3 separate regions of the Homo sapiens genome follow, and regions 2 and 3 are each linked to region 1. The links are contacts of gene promoters, found by promoter capture Hi-C in blood cells and fetal thymus (Javierre and others, 2016). All regions are on one chromosome and are shown on one strand. Each heading gives the region's core, a stretch centred on a gene start or on the middle of the fragment in contact. The rest is flanking DNA. Distances are from core to core; before and after follow the strand shown.

Region 1 (4,763 bases), core at 756-3,255:
AGATTTTTACATGAAGTTTCCCAAATTTCAAAATGCTGTTCAGGCTGGATTTAGCCCACAGGCCACGAGTTTGCAGCCCCTGCTTTAGTGAGATAACTTTTTCCATTTTCACTCTCAGCTCTCAGCTCTCCAACTTGGCTCTCTGGCTATCCACAGGACGTGGACATGAGCCCAGTGGGGCTGGGCCAGGAGGCAATCCCCCTTCCCAACTGACCTCAGTCTCGCCCTCTCCAAAACAGCCAAGGTTTGTCACTGGGTCAGGCTGAAGGGCCTGGCTCCCTCCTGCGGGGCAAGGTCCCTCCCAAGAGGGTCCTTTAAAACTGACTCTGGAAAGTCAGAGCACACACCCACCAGACAAGCCTGAACTTGTCTGAAGCCCACTGAGACCCAAGCCGCAGAGACTTTTCTAGCTGTGATGATCAAGACATAATCGTGACCTCCAATGCCCCCCACAAGTATATTGCTCCTGATTCTTTCAGCCCCTGACCTTACTTCTCAAACTGTTCCCTGCTGACCCCCAGTCCTATCTGCCCCCTTCCTAGGCTGGTCCTTACTGACCCCTCCAGCTCCATCCCCTCACCCTGTGCCCCACCTTTTTCAGATAGAAAAAACTTTCTTCTCCAGTGCCTCTTGCTGTTTTTCATCTCTGGGCCATTGTCAATGTTCCCTAAAACATTCCCCATATTCCCCACCCAGCACTCCACCTCTTTAGCTCTTCAGGTCTCAGCTCAGAAGTCACTTCTTCCAGGAAGCCTTCCTTGATTGTCTTTACTAGTTTAGGGGCTGAAGTCAGGCGTTCCCAACAGCCTGCTGGAGTTCCCCATCACAGCTTATCTCTCAACTGTCTTTCCTGAGAGAGGGAGAAGACATTCCTCAGAGACGGTTGTCACAGGGAGAACTTCAAAATTGGGATTCGACCTGAGAGGCCACATGGATTCTTGGCTTGGCGCAGGAAAGGATTCAAGAGTGAGTGGGGAATTCGTGGAACTGAGGGCTCCTCCCCTTTTTAGACCATATAGGGTAAACCTCCCCACATTGCCATGGCATTTATAAACTGCCATGGCACTGGTGGGTGCTTCCTTTAACATGCTAATGCATTATAATTAGCGTAAAATGAGCAGTGAGGATGACCAGAGGTCGCTTTCTTTGCCATCTTGGTTTTGGCTGGCTTCTTCACTGCATACTGTTTTATCAGTGGGGTCTTTGTGACCTCTATCTTATTAAACCAGTCTTGCCCAATTTCTATCTCATCCTGTGACCGAGAATGCGGACCCTCCTGGGAGTGCAGCCCAGCAGGTCTCAGCCTCATTTTACCCAGCCCCCTGTTCAAGATGGAGTCGCTCTGGTTCCAACGTCTCTAACGCGGGGCCCCTGACTGCTCTATTTCCCAAGGTGTATCTAGCATCTCGCACTATACGAGGCCAAGTTAAGGCTTACACATTTGCAGAAGGAAAGAGGTAAGGAAGCAACCTGGGACCTTCCACTGTCTCTGTTTCCATCTCTCTCTTTCCATCTCTGTTCATCCCAGAATCTCTCTGTCCCTATCCCTAAATATCGAAAATTTCTGTCTCTGACCATCTATCATTGTGGCTGATCATCTGTTTCTGACCATTCCTTCCCGTTCCTGACCCCAGGGAGTGCAGGGTGTCCTAGCCAAGCCGGCGTCCCTCCTAGTAGTACCGCTGCTCTCTAACCTCAGGACGTCAAGGGCCTAGAGCGACAGATGTTTCCCAGCAGGGGGTTCTGAGGCTGTGCGCCCAGATCGCGAGAGAGGCAAGTGGGGTGACGAGGTCGTGCACTGAGGGTGGACGTAGAGGCCAGGAGTAGCAGGCGGCCGGGGAAAAGAGGTGGAGAAAGGAAAAAAGAGGAGAAAAGTGGAGGAGGGCGAGTAGGGGGGTGGGGCAGAGAGGGGCGGGCCCGAGTGCGCCCCCCGCCCCCAGCCCCGCTCTGCCAGCTCCCTCCCAGCCCAGCCGGCTACATCTGGCGGCTGCCCTCCCTTGTTTCCGCTGCATCCAGACTTCCTCAGGCGGTGGCTGGAGGCTGCGCATCTGGGGCTTTAAACATACAAAGGGATTGCCAGGACCTGCGGCGGCGGCGGCGGCGGCGGGGGCTGGGGCGCGGGGGCCGGACCATGAGCCGCTGAGCCGGGCAAACCCCAGGCCACCGAGCCAGCGGACCCTCGGAGCGCAGCCCTGCGCCGCGGAGCAGGCTCCAACCAGGCGGCGAGGCGGCCACACGCACCGAGCCAGCGACCCCCGGGCGACGCGCGGGGCCAGGGAGCGCTACGATGGAGGCGCTAATGGCCCGGGGCGCGCTCACGGGTCCCCTGAGGGCGCTCTGTCTCCTGGGCTGCCTGCTGAGCCACGCCGCCGCCGCGCCGTCGCCCATCATCAAGTTCCCCGGCGATGTCGCCCCCAAAACGGACAAAGAGTTGGCAGTGGTGAGTTGCTGCGCTGGCCTCAAGGAACCACGTTTAGACAAACTTCGGAGGCAAAGGATGGGGGTGTCTCTCCCCCTGCCCTCGGCGGTGGGCACACAGCGTGGGGGAGGGGCTTCGGTAAACAGCTTGGGGGGTCTTTGGCAAGCTATTGGAGTGATCTCTTGCAAACGGTGGGGGATCTTTTGTAAGCAAAGAAAACCTTTGATAAACAATTTGGCAACCTTCAGCATACAGCAGTGGGGCGAAAAACAAGCCAGAGAGTGGGAGAGGGGTGACCTGGCAAACTACTGGAAAGGGACTCTTATGTAAATAGCGGGGACATCCTCTAGTATCTGGGACATTTGGCGGGGGGGGGGGGCGGTCTTTGTAAACAACTTTTGGACACATCTGGGCAGTTGCTAAGGGCTCTTGCCAAGCGTCTAGGTAAGCCTTTGGCAAACAGCTACAGGGGTCGTTTTTGCTAATGTAGGACTTTGGGAACGGTGCTCTGGCACACAATTTGGGTAAACTTATGCGCGCATAAGGATGGGAGGGAGCTTGGTCAAAGCGGGGCTTGGCAAATTTCTAGGAACCTTCGGCACAGATCCGGAGAGGGACCTTTAAACAAACAGCTCGAGGGGGCCATTTGGGAAGTGATTGGGGCAGGAGGGAAGCAGAGAGCGCATCTTTTTTCTCCTGGCTTAATGGACAAATTGGTCAAGGGCTGGGCCTCGGAAAGTTTCCTCGAACTTCTCCAAAGGGTCGGAGAAAAGAAGGAGAGAGCTGGCCCGGCAGGAGGGAGGAGGAGTGGGGCAGGCGCTGGAGGGCCCGGCGCGTGGGGCGGGGGCGGACTGCGCTCCGCTCGGGTCGGAGAGCGGCCAGAGAGCCCTCCTTCCTGGCTGGGCTCCCAAACCGCGGTTCAGATGTTGTCTTGTGAGCGTGCGCGCGCCTGGCTGGAGGGGCACTGAGCCTGGCCGCAGTGTTGCGTAAGTAGGGCCTGAGGAGAGAGGCAGGCCAGGGACCCATCAAGATGTCCTTTCCAGTCCAGGGGATATCTGCTCCCTTGTTGCTTCAGCCACCCTGCCCTCCAGCCTCCCCCTCAACCTGTCCGGGAGAAGACGCCCATGCCCTCTGGTCACCCTAGGAACTCCTTCAGGAGGTGACAACTACCCTCTCCCAACTCTCACCCTTCCAAACAGCTAGGTCTCAGCCCCCTCTGGATAGATGGGTTGGGAAACCTCCATACATTTTTAGAGGGCTACTTTTTTCAAGGATCTGGAGCTGGCTGGCATAATGATGTGGCTGTTGGGTGGGGGTGAGAGTGGAGCTTTGGGACAATGACAAAGCTACTTGGTTTCCTACACCTTTTCCAGCCAATGGGTCACAGGATGAACCCCTAAATTGGGGTTCAGCCTGGGGGCCACATGGGTTCTTGGCTTGCACAGGAAGGAATTCAAGAGCGAGCCAACAGAGTAAAGTGAAAACAAATTTATTAAGAAGGTAAAGGAATAAAAGGGTGATTATTCCATAGACAGAGCAGGGAATGGGCTGCTGGACTGAGTATACATATGGTTATTTCTTGATTATATGCTAAACAAGGGGTGGATTATTTAAGAGTTTTCCAGAAAAAGGGTGGGGAGTTCCTGGAACCGAGGGTTTCTCTCCCTTTTAGACCATATAGGGTAACTTCTCAATGTTGCTATGGCATTTATAAACTGTCACAGCGCTGGTGGGAGTGTCTAATGTATTTAACATGCTAATACATTATAATTAGCATATAATGAGCAGTGAGGACGACTAGAGGTCACTTTCATTGCAGTCTTGGTTTGGGTGGGCTTTCTCCAGCTTCTTTACTGCATCCTGTTTTATCATAGGGGTCTTTGTGACCCGAACTGTATATGGTGAAATCAGTCCTACCAACCTCCTGTCTCATTCTGTGACTAAGAATGCATGCCTGCCCTCCTGGGAATGAAGCACAGCAGGTCTCAGCCTCATCTTACCCAGCCCCCCACTCAAGATGGAGGTGCCTGGTTTGAACACCTCTGACAAATGGAAGTCTGTGTTGTCCAGAGGCAATGCAGTGGGGGCTTAAGAAGATAACTCTGGACTTAGACCGCTTGGCTTCAAATCAAAGAGTGCATGAACCAACCAGCTGGCCTAGTGATGATGTTAGGCAAGTGACTTCTCAGTTTCTTCATCTGCAAACTGGGAAATTTCCTATCTCAGGGTTAAAAGAGAGGTAATCTTAGGTGCTTACCTAGCACATGGTAAGTACTCAATAAGCACTAGCCATTATTCTATTATATTATTATTATTGTTATGTCCTCCATTTCCCCTTTCCTAA
Region 2 (4,763 bases), core at 652-3,151, 240 kb after region 1:
ACAATATAGCGATGAAGTGAGACTAATTATTAATGATGGAATGGGATTCTAGTAATGCACCAGTATTTTTTTGAGTTCTATATTGTATGCTGTAAAGGGTTTCTGGCCAGAGTGACCCAGAGGGATGGGCTGTGACATCATAAGAAACACATATTAGGGCCCTGGCCTCAGCCAGGGACCCCTGCAGTCTGGAACATCCAACAAAAGAAACACAGGCACAGCACCAGTGATAGGAGGGGCTTCCTCCAAGGTCCAGGAGTGTACCTGGTAAGGGGGTTACCTTTCTCCTCCACTGCAATGCAGAGTATGGCTGCAAATGAAAGGAAATACAGAGAAGCCATGCTGCTAAGAGCCTATCTACTGCCCATTACCCTTAAGCCACTCTGTATCTTTTAAGATCTAGTGGATCATAGCCTAAACTATAACATCAAAAATATTTTGATATTATGCCATCCTGTGAAACCAAGGGCAAGAATTTAGCCACAAATAAAGACCCTGAACAGAACCTTGACCTTCTGAAAACACCCAGAAGCCAACTGACAATACTCAACTTACACCACAGTAAAATGAACACAAACCCTCCCAGATGAGAAAGAATCGGTGCAAGAACTCTGGCAACTCAAAAAGCCAGAGTGTCCCCTTACCTCCAAATGAGTCCACTAGATTTCCAGGAATGGCTCTTAACCAGACTGAAATGACAGGCATAGAACTCAGAATGCAGATGGCAAGAAAGCTCATCAAGATTTAGGAGAAAGTTGAAACCTAACCCAAGGAATCCAGTAAAACAATCCAAGACCTGAAAGACAAAATAGCCGTTTTAACAAAGAACCAAACTGAACTTCCAGAGCTAAAAAATTCACTACAATAATTCTATAATATAATTAAAAGTATTATCAACAGAATAGACCAAGATGAGGAAAGAATCTCAGAGCTCAAAGGCCAGTACTTCACATCGACACAGTCAGACGAAAGTTAAAAAAATTTTATTTTCAAGAGAATTAAATCGTTTATTGATTACACGTGATAATGGATGATACACAAGCTTCATTCCCATCTATAATTTTATCTGGTACCATTATTCAATTTAGATATATTGCATAGGATGTGCCAACAATCACTTTTATAACCATTCCATGATTTTGCTTGGGTAATCCCTTTTAATGGTGAACTTCAGGTCACAACAGTAACTATCAGTTCAACTACACCAAGGTTTCCAAAGACAATGGCTTCTCCACCCAAGCAGGTTGTATATAAATTCCAAATAGAACCTGGCATCACCCTGAAGGAATTCTAACTTCACACTGTTGGGGAAATTTACCAAGATGGCTTCAGAGTAGACTAACTTTACACAGCACATTAAAAAAAAAGACATTTATTCAGCATCACGATCAGACTATTACATTTAGCAATCAACAGCATGGGTGCAAAAAAAAAATCTACATTAAAACCCTTTGTTGGAATGCTTTACACTTTCCACAGAACAGAAACTAAAATAACCTGTTATACAATTAGTCACAAATACAGTCCTTGAGTTTTTTGCCCATACACATGAGTATTTGTCTAAAACATGTCTTCTTTGTAGCAGCTAGGCCCTGCCACCACTGTGCTTGGCTGAGTTCACAAATCTGTCGTAACCTGTAGCTTCCCTGTCACTTCTCTGGCTCTCCTCTCCTGCTAAGCTTTGTTTCCTAATTAAAATCTTCAATGAACAAAACTTCCAAGAAGTATGTAAAGAGACCAAATCTGCAATTCATTGGCATTCCTGAGAGAAAAAAAGAGAATAAGCAACCTTGCAAAATATATGTGGGGATATAGTCCATGAAAGTTTCTCTAATCTCACTAGAGAGGTTAACATGCAAATTCGGGAAATACAGAGAACTCGCTAGATGCTATACAACATGACCATCCTCAAGGAACATAGTCATCAGATTCACGAACATCAACCCAAAAGAAAAAATCTTAAAGGCAGCTAGAGAGAAGGGTCAAGTCACATACAGAGAGAACCCCATCAGGCTAGCAGCAGACCTATCAGCAGAAATCTTACACCTCAGAAGATATTGGGGGTCTATTTTTAGTGTCCTTAAAGGAAAGAAATTTCAACCAAGAATTCATATTCCTTCAAACTAAGCTTCATAAGTGAAGTAGAAATAAAATCCTTCTCAGATAAGCAAATGCTGAGGGACATTGTTTCAACTAAACCAGCCTTACAAGAGGTCATTAAGGGAGTGCTAAACATGGAATCAAAAGAGTGATACTTGTTACCACAAAAACACACTAAGAATATAGCCCGCAGGTACTATAAAGCAACTACACAACCAAGTCTACATAACAACAAGCTAGCAACACAGTCACAGGCTCAAAATCTCATATACCTATTCTAACCCTGAATGTAAATGGGCTAAATGCCTCCACTTAAAAGATATAGAGTGGCAAGCCAGATAAAAAGACAAGACCCAACCATCTGCTGTCTTCAAGAGACTCATCTCACATGTAATGACACCCACAGGTTCAAAGTAAAGGGATGGAGAAATATCTACCATGCAAATGGAAAACTAAAAAGAACCAGTCACTATTTTTATGTCAGATAAAATAGATGTTAAACCGATTTCTATTAAGAAGGACAAAGAAGGGTATTACGTTATGCTAAAATGTACACTTCAACAAGAAAAATTAACTATCCTAAATATATACACACCCAACATTGGAGCACCCCAATTCATGAAACAATTCTTCTTGGACTACAAAAAGACTTAGATAACCACACAATAAGAGTGGGAGTCTTCAACATTCCACTGACAGCATTAGACAGATCATTGAGGCAGAAAACAAACGAAGAAACTCTAGACTTAAACTTGACTCTTGGCCAGTTAGACCTAATAGACATCTATAGAACACTCCACCAAACAATGGCAGAACAAATACTCTTCTCACCTGCACACAGAGTTCCGCTGTTGTCGTCCAGGCTGGAGTGCAATGGTGCGATCTTGGCTCACTGCAACCTCCGCTTCCCAGGTTCAAGTGATTCTTCTGCCTCAGCCTCCTGAGTATCTCTGGGATTATGACACCCATCATCACGGCTGGCTAATTTTGTTTTTTTGTTTGTTTGTTTGTTTGTTTGTTGTTGTTGTTGTTTGTATTTTTACTAGAGACCGGGTTTCACCACACTGGCCAGGCTGGTCTCAAACTCCTGACCTCAAAAGATCTGCCTGCCTTGGTCTCCCAAAGTGCTGGGATTACAGGTATGAGCCACCACACCTGACCACACAGAACATATTCTAAGATTAACTACACGCTCAGTCATAAAGCAAGTGTTAAAATTTTTTTTGTAAAGTTGAAATCATACCAAGCACACTCTCGGAACACAGTGCAATAAACATAAAAATATTATCAAGAACATCTCTCAAAACTGCATAAATACATGGAAATTAAACAACTTACTCCTGAATAACTCCTGGGTGAATATCAAATTTAAGGCATAAATCAAAAAATTCTTTGAAATTATTGAAAATAGGGATGCAACTTACCAAAATCTCTGGGATGCAGCTAAAGCAGTGTTAAGAGGAAAGTTTAGAGCATGAAATGCCTTCATCAAGAAGTTAGAAAGATCTCAAATTAACAATGTAAGTTTGCACCTAAAGGAACTAGAAAAAGAGAACAAACCAACCCCAAAGCTAGCAAAAGAAAACTAAAATTAGAGAAGAATTTGACACTGAGTTGCAAAAATCCATACAAATGATCAATAAAACTACAAGTTGGTTATTAGTAAAAATAAACCAGATCAATAGGCCCCTAACTAGATTAACAAAATCAAAGAAGATCCAAATAAGCACAATCAGAAATGACAAAAATGATGTTACACCTGATCCCACAGAAATATAAAAGATCCTCAGATAATATTATGAATAACTCTATGTGCACAAATTAGAAAATCTGGAGAAAATAAATAAATTCCTGGAAATAATCTCCTAAGATTGAATCAGGAAGAGATTGAAATCCTGAAGAGACTAATATGGAACTCTGAAATTGAATCAGTTACAACAACAACAAAAAAACCCTACCAATCAAAAAAAGTCCTGGATCAGATTAATTCACAGCCAAATTCTACCACATGTACAAAGAAGAACTGAGACCAATTCTACTGAAACTATTCCAAGAAAATCCAAGAGGAGGGACTCCTCTCTAACTCATTCTATGAAGCCAGCATCAGCCTAATGCCAAAATCTGGAAGAGTCACAATGAAAAAAAAAAACTTCTGGCTAATATCCCTGATGAACATAGACACAAAAATCCTCAACAAAATACCAGGAAACCAAATGCAGCGGCACATCAAAATGTTAATAAACGATGATCAAGTAGGCTTCATCCCTGAGATGCAATAATTGGTTCAACAAGTACAAATCAATAAATGTGATTCACCACATAAACAGAATTTAAAGCAAAAACAATATGTTCATCTCAATAGACAAAGAAAGAATTTCTTATAAAATCTGACATCCTTTCATGTTAAAAACCCTCAACAGACTCAGCATTAAAGGAGCACATCTCAAAACAATAAAAGCCATCTATGACAAACCCACAGCCAACATCATACTGAATGGGCAAATCTGGAAGCATTCCCCTTGAGATATGGAACAAGACATAAATGCCAACTCTCACCACTCCTATTAAACATAGCCCTGGAAGTCCTAACTAGAGCAATCAGGCAAGAAAAAGAAATAAAAGGCATCTAAACAGGAAAAGAAGAAGTCAAACTATCTTCACTG
Region 3 (4,763 bases), core at 1,083-3,582, 160 kb after region 1:
ACAGATCCTTCCCAGACAATCGGAGTCTAACTCACCACTCTGGGGACTTGTCAATATCTATCCACATCTTACTTATTTCCTTGTTTATTTGTTTCTAGACTTTTCTCCTGGCTTGACTTTAAGCAGGAATCTCATCTGTATTATTTACCACTATAGCCCTGGCTCATAGAATTGTTCCTGATACATAGGGATGACTCAAGAAATGCTTTTGAGAGGGAAGGAAGGAAGGGAGAGAAGGAGGGAAGAAAGAAGATAGGAAGGAGGGAGGAAGGGAAGGAGAGAAAAAGAAAGATTGGAGGGAGAGAGGAAATCTCTCTCTCTCTCTCTCTCTCTCTTTTTTTTTTTTAACATATTCTAGTTGGTTTTTAGCCAGAGAAGGGTGATACTTAAAACAAGAGACTTAACCATGGACTTTATGGCCTAAGAACAACAATGTTTGGGACAAGGTAAGAATAGCTGGGGACTCCTCAAGTCTCACCTTGCAAGCAGCCAGCTGTGTTGCCTAGGGGTGGGACAGACAGATGCTAGGGAAGGCAAAGGGAGCCACCAGTTGGGGCAGAAGGGAATCAGTGGAGGACCTGGGAAATCTTAGCCCTTATAGGTTTGCAGGACCTCTTCCTGCTTGGGAGACTCCAGCATCTGCCTTTCAATGAATAGCATCAGGACTAGCATTGCCCCCAAGGAACCTGGAATCAATGAGAGGGTTGGTGGAGTGTAAATGTTTGGGCCAGAGAAAGTGAGCACCTTGGAGACGGAGCTCCGAAGTTCTGCAAATGCAATATCTTCATTTAAAGACTGGTCTGTAAGTGGCACTCCGCACACAGTTGTGCAATTTATAGATGATGGCATGGGGTTCTGGAGGCTGGCTCCAGGGAGATGAGGTTGCATGGACCTTAGGCATTGCAGACCACAAGACTCCTATGGATGGAAATAAAAGCAGCTACAGCCACCAGCAGAGAAATCTCTTCTTGTTTGTTTGTTTGTTTGTTTTGTTTTGTTTTGAGACAGAGTTTCATTTTTGTTGCCCAGGCTGGGGTGCAAAGGCATGGTCTTGGCTCACTGCAACCTCTTCCTCCTGGGTTCAAGCGATTCTCCTGTCTCAGCCTCCCAAGTAGCTGGGATTACAGGCACCCGCCACCATGCCTGGCTAATTTTTTTGTATTTTTAGTAGAGATGGGGTTTCACCATGTTGGCCAGGCTGGTCTCGAACTCCTGACCTCAGATGATCCACTCACCATGGTCTCCCAAAGTGCTGGGATAGAGAAATCTCTTCTAAGCAAGAGAGTTGTGCACACAGCACTGGACAATTTGCCGGGTGGGGCATGAGCTGGCTAAGGCATTGGGAAGGGGCTGGTGAGGATGGTGGTCAGAGGCGCCTGGCAAACCTCAGATTCTATAACATTCAGACCAGGTCCATTTCCTGCTGATGACCAAGTGGACTCTCAGAAGCCATCAGGAGGGTGCTCGGCTCATCAGGGGAAAGTCAATTCCCTGGGGCTTTCACTTATAACTTTGTTTGCAGATAGCAAGCCTTTTCCGCCCGGCTTCTCATCCTGAGCCTTTCTGCCTGTAACAATCACATTATTTAATTTAGATGAGTGAAGTTACCCTAGATCAATTATACTTATTTTTCCTGTGTAATTTCCAAAGCTTAATATCTCCATTCGGGCCCAGCCTGGGGGACAGGTTGTCTAGCAGAGTCCTAAACGATTTCAGCCTTTAATTCAATTGTACTTTTACCATAGCCCAGCAGCGAGCATAATTCTTTTATCCCTAAGATGTCTCATTAGCAATAATCTAATAGCACATATTAAAATATAGGTCACTGAGGTGGGCTGCCAAGTGGAAGGCTTGTCATAACTTTGAAGGTTGGACAGCTGCCTTGGTGGGACTTGGTCCCCCAATAACACACCACCCTGACTCTAGGCTTAATTCTAAAATGATCAATAAAACACAACAAAAACAGCTTACTTTCTGCAGTTCAAGGTTAAGAACCGACGTTGGCTAGGAAATAGAGCTGTGGGGTAGGGTAAGGCAGAGGGGAATGTTCTTGCCAACATGACGTAGTAGGAAAGATCTCCGACCTCAGGAACTTGGGCTGGAACCTCATCCCAGTTGTGCCGTGAACATGCAGACTGACCTGCAGTACAGCTGTTATGGCCCTTGACCTTGGTGTGCACACCTGTAAAAGGGGAAGATACTGGGCTTAAAGCCAATGTTTCCTGAATTCTGGCACTCCCTGATCAACTTGTCCTAGTATGCATTTGATGTTTTCCTTTAAATCAACTCATTCTTCTTAATTAAACACATTTGTTTTAAAAAGGAAGCTCAAGTATCAACATGGAAAAACCTCAAGAATATTTGCAGGAGGATTCATGCGGAATAAGGCCAACTGTATAAACTTTAAACATGCACAAAAGTGATGCGTAAAAATGGTTTAGACAGGCAAAATAAATCTAGGGGGTTCAAGGTCCAGATAGCAGTTACCTTTGGGGAGGAGGGAGATGTTGACAGGGAGGGGCAACCAGGGGGACTCCTCAGATTCTGGTCATTTTTTTAATGGCCTGGATGTAGTTTCATGAGCGTTTTTACTATGTAAAAAGTGCAGTTATAATTACTTCAATTTTCTGTGTGTTAAGCCTCATACAAATATATATATGTTTTATATATAAAAATTTATATATATGTTTTCATATATAGTTTATATGTATAAAATTTTAGGAATATACGCAACATTTTAGGTATATGTAAATGTACGTGTGTAATTTTAAGTAATAATATATACATATCGTGTATACATAGGTACATATGCAGTATATGTATATATTGAGTATGTGTGCATGTGTGTATATAGTATGTATATTGATTATTCTTAATAATATATATTTATATTTAATAATAAATACATATTGTTATATAATTATGCATTATATGTATGTATACCATACATTTAATATGTGCTATTAGGTATGTATTATGTATGTATTTAGTGAGGATTATTCCCAAATGTGTATCTAAGCTTTCACTATCTGGCACCTATGAACACTAGAGAGCAGGTATCTAGTGAGAGCAGAAATACTCTATAGTGACAGTGTAGATACATGCTTGGGAATTATCCACATTTTTTAAGTTAACAGTAAGAAATAATGAAAGAAATTTTATACTGTCATCATGTAATAAATAAAAAACCAAAATCACATGCCATAAATAGATAACTAAAAATAAAGCAACGAAAAGAAAGCACTGATAGGAGATTCTAGTTTCATGCGGTTTGGGCCTGAAAGTTCTGACCCAAAGCCTGGCTTCCTTCTGTTGAACTGGGGATTAGTAAGTTAGAGTCATTACAGACACATGAACACCAGATTGAGACTCACTCCTTCCGTAATCAGGGCTAAAAAAGCATGAAAAGCAGTGGAACTTTCTCCCTCTGTGATTCAAAGTAATTCAAATCAGGGCCTGCATAGCCCTGAGCCATTGCCCCTTTTCCTTGGGGCTGTACTTCTCTACTTCAGGAGAGATCTGCAAGGTCCCTCCAAGCTCCAACTATCCTAGCTTCTAAGGGATGCGGGCATGGCGAAAGGTCTTGTTACAGGTGGGCTGGAGGATAGGGAGAAAAAAATGGGAGAGACGCTATTAGCAAAATTGGAAAATTTTGAAACAAAGCCCCATTCCTTTCTCCAGCTCCCCGGACTGGTTCTCACAAAGCCTGAGCCAGAGGCAGGGGTGGGCAGGCACACACTCCTTGGAGGGCAGCCCCCAGCCTTCCCAGACACAGCCGTTCCACCTGCCTCCTGGGCTACACTGAGCTGGAGCCTGACTCCTTGAAGTGCGTGTTTGTGGCTCTGGGCCTGCTCTTGGGCCACACGGAATATATGTGCAGCACCCCCTGGTGACTGCATGTCCACTCCTGAGGCCAGCAGGTCTGTCCCTCAGTCTTCTCCTAAGGCCTAAGTCTCTCCACCAACTGCCTGACCTGACTCTCCCCAGGACATGCACTTCAGCTTTAGCTTCATGGCCCACATCCACACGTGGGCAGTGTAGACCAGCTGCCAGTCCCCTTACAAGAGAACTGCGTGTGCTGGAGGGCTCAGTGAGGATTCCTGTGGCCCTTGGAACAGGCAGGGTGGCCTCATGATGACCTCTCCCCACCTTTGTTATCACCAAGGATCCTTCCCAGCCTGGATCCTCCCCTCACTGCTGCCCCAACCTGGACCCCCAAGTCTTCCCAGCCTCCTCATCAAAACCTATCTTTCGTGCACCTCCTTCCTTCAGAGTGATGCCAGGGCAATGTTCAACTATCTGCTCTGAGAAATGTTCCAAAGAGAGGACGTAGGTGTGGGAAGACCCTGGGACCACGTGTCGGAGCCGGTTCTGATCTCTTGCTCTGCTACTACCCTGTGTAATTTTGGGAGTGGAAGTGAGGCAGGGAGGTACAAAGTGGGGCAAAGAAGTGGAGGGTTCTTCTGCCAGCTACCTGGGAGGAAGGGCAAACCTCATGACACACAGCATTGAGGGGAGACTGGCAGTGGATGCTGAAGACCTGGAAGATGCGCAGGACAAAGGCAAAGGGGGCAGAGAAGAAAAATAGAAGAGAAACAAAATGGGCCTTGGGGCAGATCCCAGAACTGGTGGGAGGGGTGGATCTAAGGGCTTGAGGTGGGAGGTGAGCCTTGAAGAGGGAAGGACTCTAGCTCCTTGAGGGGAAAGGGCCAGAGGAGATGGTGGCTGACAAACCACAATGTCTGGGTTCAGAAATGCATCAG

What was found. Contacts are between HindIII fragments. The CHiCAGO score rates a contact against its expected background, and 5 or more counts as called.
Region 2: a contact is called between a fragment that was not itself captured here and the fragment with the promoter of MMP2 in region 1, in 6 of 17 cell types (M2 macrophages, fetal thymus, M0 macrophages and 3 more). The highest score is 7.1, in M2 macrophages.
Region 3: a fragment that was not itself captured here is called in contact with the fragment with the promoter of MMP2 in region 1 in 4 of 17 cell types (monocytes, M1 macrophages, M2 macrophages and 1 more); the score reaches 6.4 in monocytes.

The regions. Positions count from the first base shown.
Region 1 is chr16:55,477,193-55,481,955 of GRCh38, forward strand. It overlaps MMP2 (matrix metallopeptidase 2), which reads left to right and starts at 2,006. Exons shown (of 13, transcript NM_004530.6): 1 at 2,006-2,440. The coding sequence starts at 2,288. The HindIII fragment of the contact is 12,132 bases long and covers 1-4,763 here.
Region 2 is chr16:55,718,754-55,723,516 of GRCh38, forward strand. LOC105371280 (a long non-coding RNA gene) reads right to left here and starts at 3,083. Exons shown (of 3, transcript XR_933605.1): 1 at 2,932-3,083. The HindIII fragment of the contact is 449 bases long and covers 1,678-2,126 here.
Region 3 is chr16:55,639,509-55,644,271 of GRCh38, forward strand. No RefSeq gene overlaps it. Among named protein-coding and RNA genes, the nearest start is that of SLC6A2, 14 kb to the right of the region's middle. RefSeq lists a silencer at 3,769-4,063. The HindIII fragment of the contact is 1,369 bases long and covers 1,649-3,017 here.